Regions from separate parts of the Homo sapiens genome. Here region 2 is linked to region 1. Evidence: promoter capture Hi-C in 16 types of primary human blood cells and fetal thymus (Javierre and others, 2016). All regions are on one chromosome and are shown on one strand. Each heading gives the region's core, a stretch centred on a gene start or on the middle of the fragment in contact. The rest is flanking DNA. Distances are from core to core; before and after follow the strand shown.

Evidence for each region. Contacts are between HindIII fragments. The CHiCAGO score rates a contact against its expected background, and 5 or more counts as called.
Region 2: a contact is called between a fragment that was not itself captured here and the fragment with the promoter of PRDM14 in region 1, in 3 of 17 cell types (neutrophils, activated CD4 T cells and megakaryocytes). The highest score is 7.8, in neutrophils.

The regions. Positions count from the first base shown.
Region 1 is chr8:70,069,763-70,072,909 of GRCh38, forward strand. PRDM14 (PR/SET domain 14) reads right to left here and starts at 1,490. Exons shown (of 8, transcript NM_024504.4): 1 at 1,388-1,490; 2 at 1-122. The coding sequence starts at 98. RefSeq lists enhancers at 984-1,713, 1,714-2,443. The HindIII fragment of the contact is 12,104 bases long and covers 1-2,007 here.
Region 2 is chr8:70,533,405-70,536,551 of GRCh38, forward strand. LOC105375890 (a long non-coding RNA gene) reads right to left here and starts at 2,541. Exons shown (of 3, transcript XR_929030.3): 1 at 1,810-2,541. The HindIII fragment of the contact is 3,569 bases long and covers 1-3,147 here.

The DNA.
Region 1 (3,147 bases), core at 240-2,739:
AAAGGCGTGTAGTACGCGGCCAGGTTCTGCGGGCTGCTCTCCGGCGGGTAGCACACCTTGTCCTGAGGCACGGCCTCACTTGGCCGGGGTAGAGCCATCCCGGGACCGCACGCTCGGCGGCTCTGCAGAAAAGCGGGCGCCGCTGAGGACACCGCGCGGGAGCTTCCCGGGGTCCGACCCGCGCCTCCCCACCAGCCTCCTCCACCCCAGCCAGCCCCAGATCCAAGGGAACAGGATAAACGCCCCCAGTCCGATCCCGCCAGCCCGCTCCCACAATTAAGACAAAACGAAAAAACAGCAATAGAAGCAAACACAAAAAAGCCCCAAACGGAAATCTGCCGGGATCCTGCCCTACTCTAAATTCCGGGTTAGTGTTGCCTTCCCCTTCCCTCTCCAAGCACCCCTTCCCTAAGCCCGGCCGCCTTCCCACACCCGCTCTCCGCTTTCGGCCCCCAACCCGGTTCCTGCAAAACCCATTGAAGTTCCCTTTCCTTCCTTCTTCTCAGTCCTACAAAACTCGTTGGTAGGGTCTGTGGGAGCCGCGGGGCCCTGCCAACCTCGGGGCTGGGCCGGGAGCCGAGCGCAGGCGGTCGGAGGGCAATGGAGCAAGCGACAGCTCCAGGCGCTCCTGGGCCCTCGGCTGGGAGGGAAGAGCCGAGGACCCTGGGTCGCACCGCGCAGATGGAGACGCGCTCCCAGAGCCCCCGGGCAGGTCCAGGGACCCCGCGACCTGCTCTGGCCCAGCGGTGTGACCCCGCGGGTCCTGGCGGTCCTGACTGCCCGCAGGGGAGGGGCGCGCCACTTTTGGCTGCCCTAGGATGCGCCGCCTGAACCTCTTTTCCCTCGCGGGCAGCGTCCGCCACATTCCCCGGGTTCCTCGGAAACTCCAATCATTCTACCAGGACTATTGGGGCCTGGGGTAGCCCCTCGGGAGCCGCGTGGACGAGCCCTGGCCAGGTGGGAGCGAAGAGCCTCGGCGACTGCCAGTCCTCCCGCCCCCGCACCGCCGGGAAAGGATGGCGTTTTAATAGACAGGCAGCAAGTTCACCGAGGCTGAAGAATGAAGCCCCTTCAGGGCCGGCGGGTCTTGAGATCAATGAGCCCAATAAGAAAACCAAGCAGGGTCATGACTCAGAAATTAAAGAACACGGGGTCAGGAGAAGAGGTCAGCCACGACACAGGCAGCGGCCCGTCTCCTCCCGATCCTCCAAAGGCGCCCTTCTCCTAGCCTCCTCCGACCTCAGGGATCTGCAACTTGGGATTCAAAGCCCCCGAGAGGGCAGAACGACCATCCAAAACGAACTGCGCCAGCGAGTGCTGCCGCCCTCCCCAACGGCCCTGGAAGACCACCGCCCCGGGCCCCAGGCGCGTCCTGTCCCGTGCCTACCTCCGACACCACCTCCAAGAGCGCCACCGCGGAGCGGGCGCCTCCTGGACGCTGCGGGGCCACTCGGGCTCGGTAGGCCACTCGGGCTCGGTAGACTTCGGGCGGGCCCTGAGGGCTGAGCCAGGCTTAAGAGGGCGGGCGGGGCCGCGGGGCATCGACAGGTCGAGGGTAGGGAATTGACCCGGCCCACGCAGATCCCCGCGTCGTCTTCTCCCCGCCCACCGCAGCCATTGGCCGACTCTCGACTCGCCCTCTGTCCCCTGGGGTCGCTCACTTAACTCATCAGTTTTCCAAACCCTCCCTGGGACCCTAGTGGCGAGCACTCGCCGCTGGCCTTCTAGGGCAGGCAGTATTGCCGCTCCAGGCGTGCGGAGTCGGGGAGAAAAAAACCGAACACGTGTGCTACCCAGGGCCCCCAGATAAGCCCCTCCGCGCGCACACACACCCTGAACCGGAGTCCAGAAGGCCGGACTCGCGTCCCGGGGTCGAGCCCCTTACTCTCCGCTCCCAGTTCGGAAGATCCCAGCCTGCCCGAAGGCGGCGTCTGACCCGCTGGTGGACCTGGTGGGTGTCTGTTCCTGATACCTGGGGACGAGGCGGGAGCGCCTTGAGCGCTGGGAAGCTTCGCCTCGCGAGTCCCCGGCAGTGACACGTGGGAGCGTTGGGCCCGGCACCCCCGACGCTTCCGAGGTTTCGGGTGGTCGTTTTGCTCTCTCGGGGGCTTTTATTCCTTAAGTGGCTTTAAACGACCGAGGATGGGCCTCCCGCGCCGCCGCAGCTGTCACTTCCTTCGGGAAAGGCTAGCGACCTTGGACGCGCAGGCTCTGAAAACCAAGGTCCAGACCCATACCGAGCGCCCAAAGACCGCATTTGAATTCTCCTCGCCGGCCATTGAGGGAGAGAAAGGAACGCTTAGTTCCATTCACATTCACAGAAAGAAGCGCCGAGGGTGGGGGAAACGCAGTCTTGCCGGGTGAGCCGGGACAGGTTCCTCGCCTGCCCCCCGGCCGCTGCTTCCTCTTAGCTGAATGGGGAGCGACCCGCCCCGGGCGCGGCCTTCGGGGCTGAAGACTGAGGTGCAGCCTCACCCCCGGCCTGGCAGCGGCTTGGAAGAGAGAGGGAAAGGAGGAACATCTACCCGGCTAAGAGACGCCGCCAGAGTCCCTAAAGCTGGCGGGGGACGGAGGCCGGGGTCCCGGATCTTCAGAGCGCCCGCAGCCGGGCTTCTGGGCTCCTCGGTGCGGGGAACCTGACCCTGTAGCCTTCGCCAGGGCGCGGCGGGGCTGCAAGAAGGGAGGAAGGAGTGGGACTAGAGCCTTCGAGGGCGCGGGCGGCGTGCACTCAGCCTTGTCTCCCCGCGCGCCCTGCCGCCTGCTTGCCCCCTTTGCTGCACCGGGTGGCCCTGGTCCCCGCGCCCGCCCGCCCCCGACGCCTTCGCGTGGTTCCGCGCTGCCCGCGGCCAGCCCCGTTTCGCTTCGCAAGGAGCGTGTTGTTTTCTCAATCGAAATGGGATCAAGATCCCAGGGTTTCCTCGTCTCCTTGTTTTGAGGTGATAGGATCTTAGCCAATAGATCGAAAACGTGAAAAGTACCCGTCGCCTCTTGTCCCAAGTGCCTCTGTGGAAGGATCATTTACTTGGAAAAGCAGAATAAATTCTGTTGCCGTTTTCCTTCCGGAGGCGTGCTCACCCCAGAGCTCCTAGACCCACTGGCATTCGCTATACTTCCTCCTGGGCTTTACAGGTAGGATTTCAAGAATGA
Region 2 (3,147 bases), core at 425-2,924, 460 kb after region 1:
ACAGAGATAATTATTAGTATGCCTTATCTGGCAGGGTAGCTGTGAGAATAAGTATAAATATTGCATGTAAAGGGCCTGCAGAGTGTCTAATCCCCTGGTGTGGGTGCCCAACAAACTCTGGCTCCCTTCTCTGCCAATTTATAGTAAATTTACAAGTGAGAAATGCACTTGCCACAGTACAGAATCAAATACTTTGTTTTTTCTTTTTCTTTTTTGAGATGGAGTCTCGCTCTGATGCTAGGCTGGAGTGCAGTGGCACGATCTCGGCTCACTGCAACCTCCACCTCCCAGGTTCAAGCGATTCTTGTGCCTCAGCCTCCCGAGTAGCTGGGACTACAGGCGTGCATACTTTGTTTTTTCAATCGAGAGTGATGATTACATGGATAGTTTCTACAGTCCTCTTAAAACTGTAGAGACCAGACTAGATTTTCCTTAAGTCCTTTAATCATCTTTGTGGTTTTTTGCAGAACCTTCTCCAGTTTTTCAAAATTCCACTTCAATTGTGGAGACCACAGCTAGATTAGTCACCGTAGAGAACCCATTATAATTAGCTCAACACTGTGCAGTTGCTTGGGCGGCTGACTCGGCCATGAAAACCCAGTCGGCCAGTCCCCATCGACACATAGGTTGTGTTCCAGGAGTTCATTAGTAAGTCGGTTGTTTGGAACACAGAAAGCCTTTCCCCATAGAAACAGAATTATAGATGGTGGCTTGTTTCCCAGGCCAGTGCACAAAAATCTATTTAATGCACATGCAGCTGAACCAGGGCCAGTCCCTTAAGTCTTGGACTTGCCTGATCCCCAGTGGAGCCCCCAGTCTCATGGAGCCCTGAGAACCTCTGAGCCTCAAGCATCCAACCACAAGGCCTCTGAGAGAGGTGAGAATTGGGCTGACAATTTTAGAGTGAGAATCATTTGCAGCATGATTATGAAAAACACTTCTTTGGAAGACTTAACCTGCAATCGTGCTTACTGTTATTAGAAAGCAATCAAGTTACCCTATGATAAATACACCGACTATATGCGGATATTGTACCTAAATCTACCTAAATTACCTTTAATTTTCACAGTACTCCTGTAAGAAAATGACTCTCTTTCTCAGTATTCCCATTTTGCCTGTGTCTTAAGGAGACTGTGGCCCAAGGTCAGGCAGATAGAAGGTGGCAGAACTGATGTTGGAGATCTGGCCTTCTGTCTCGTAAAGCTGAGACCTTTTCACTGCACAACACTGCCTCCCAGTGGACTGTGCTTAACACTGAACCTCGCGTGGCTGAGCCAACCACGTATACTCTGCGGGTGCACTTAACAAGTTCTTCATTCATACATCCAACAAAGAATCTTTGAGTGCTTCCAATGAGCGAGGCCTCGGGAACACAAAATCAAATTAGACGTGGTGTTCTCATAGAGTGGTTGGGAAAGGGAATAAGTAAATCAACGATTGAAATCTATGAGATGGAATGTAATTAAATTTTAAAAGAGAAAAAGATAACATAGAAACCCAGCAGAGAGATGTATTGGTCAGACAGACGAGGATGGTGGTGGACCAGAAAGTCCCTGTGCTCCCCTAGCTTTCACCTCCTGTCCTCAGACTATACCATCCACCGTCTACCACACCTACTGATACCGTCATCAGTTGAGCTGAGCCCCTCACATCTCCATCATTTTAGCTTTTAGCTTTCTGTAAGTCTCTCCGAAACCACGTCAGCCTTTGTTCCTGGTGATTTTAATATCCACGCTGATGACTGCTTCTGTACCCAGGCCTCTCAGCACCTTTAACTCCCCTTGTCATCTACCCACCTCAGTCACTTACCTCAGTGGTCGTTCTCTAGACCTGGTCACTGCCAAGAACTGCAACTCCTCTACAATCTCAGTTTATCATCTCGTCCATGGCACACGAAAGTGAGAGCGGCTGGAGGCTGCTAAATGCCCAGGAGGATGGGGTGAAACCCCACCTTCCAGCCAAAAACACTGAACTGCTGGTCCCAGATGAAACCCGCGACACAGGCTGAGTATTTCTGTTCCTTTTTGCCCCCGCTCTTTCCTGATTAATTATTTCTAAATAATGCGTTTTAACCGATCAAGCGTTGCCTTTTCCAATACTACCTATGACCTGCCCCTCCCCTATTCTAAGCCTATAAAAAGCTCGTGACCCAGCCACGAGGGGAGGAAAAAACCATCCGACTAAGGGGGTGGGCGACCACCCCCCAGAGTCCCTTCTCCGCTAATTGCTGTTCCCTTGCTCAATAAAATTCTTCTCCGCCCTCTTCACCCTTCAATGTCCAACGTATCCTCATTCTTCTCAGGCGTGGTACAAGAGCTTGGGAACTGCCGAACGCGGGTACAAGAGCTTGGGAACCGCCGAACGTGGGTACAAGAGCTTGGGAACCGCCGAACGCGGATAGAAGCTATAACACAGGCGAGCTGGGGCATGCCAGCGTGGCTGAGCAGGGCGCGGGTGGGGCATCGCTGGCCGGAGGTCCCGGTTTGCAAAGTGACCGAGAAGAAAAATCCTGCATCAAAAGTTACAGTTGCTGCCGGGAGCTGTGGCTCATGCCTGTAATCCCAGCACTTTGGGAGGCTGAGGTGGGCAGATCATGAGGTCAGCAGTTCGAGACCAGCCTGGCCAACATGATGAAACCCCATCTCTACTAAAAATACAAAAATTAGCCGGGCGTGGTGGCGAGTGCCTGTAATCTCAGCTACTTGGGAGGCTGAGGCAGGAGAATTGCTTGAACCTGAGAGGTGGAGGTTGCAGTGAGCTGAGATAGCACCACTGCACTCTAGTCTGGGTAACAGAGCAAGACTCCATCTGGGGAAAAAAAAAAGTTCCAGTTGCTGGCATCTTCTGCATTTGTGTTGCCAATCCTTTTAATTCTAGCCATTCTGGTGAGATTGTAATTGTAATAACATTGAAATGGTATGCATTTCTCTGATAAGGAAATAAAGTACTTTTATATACATTTATTGGACATTGGAATATCATTTTCGTGAAGTGTCTTGTTCATTTGCTACGGGATTGTCTGTCTTTATTGATTAATACAAGTTCTTTATATGATAAATATATTGCAAATAATTTCCTTTATTCTGTCACTTGCCCTCTTATTCTCGTCATTTTGATGAAAAGAAGTTCGCAATTTTGATGAAATCC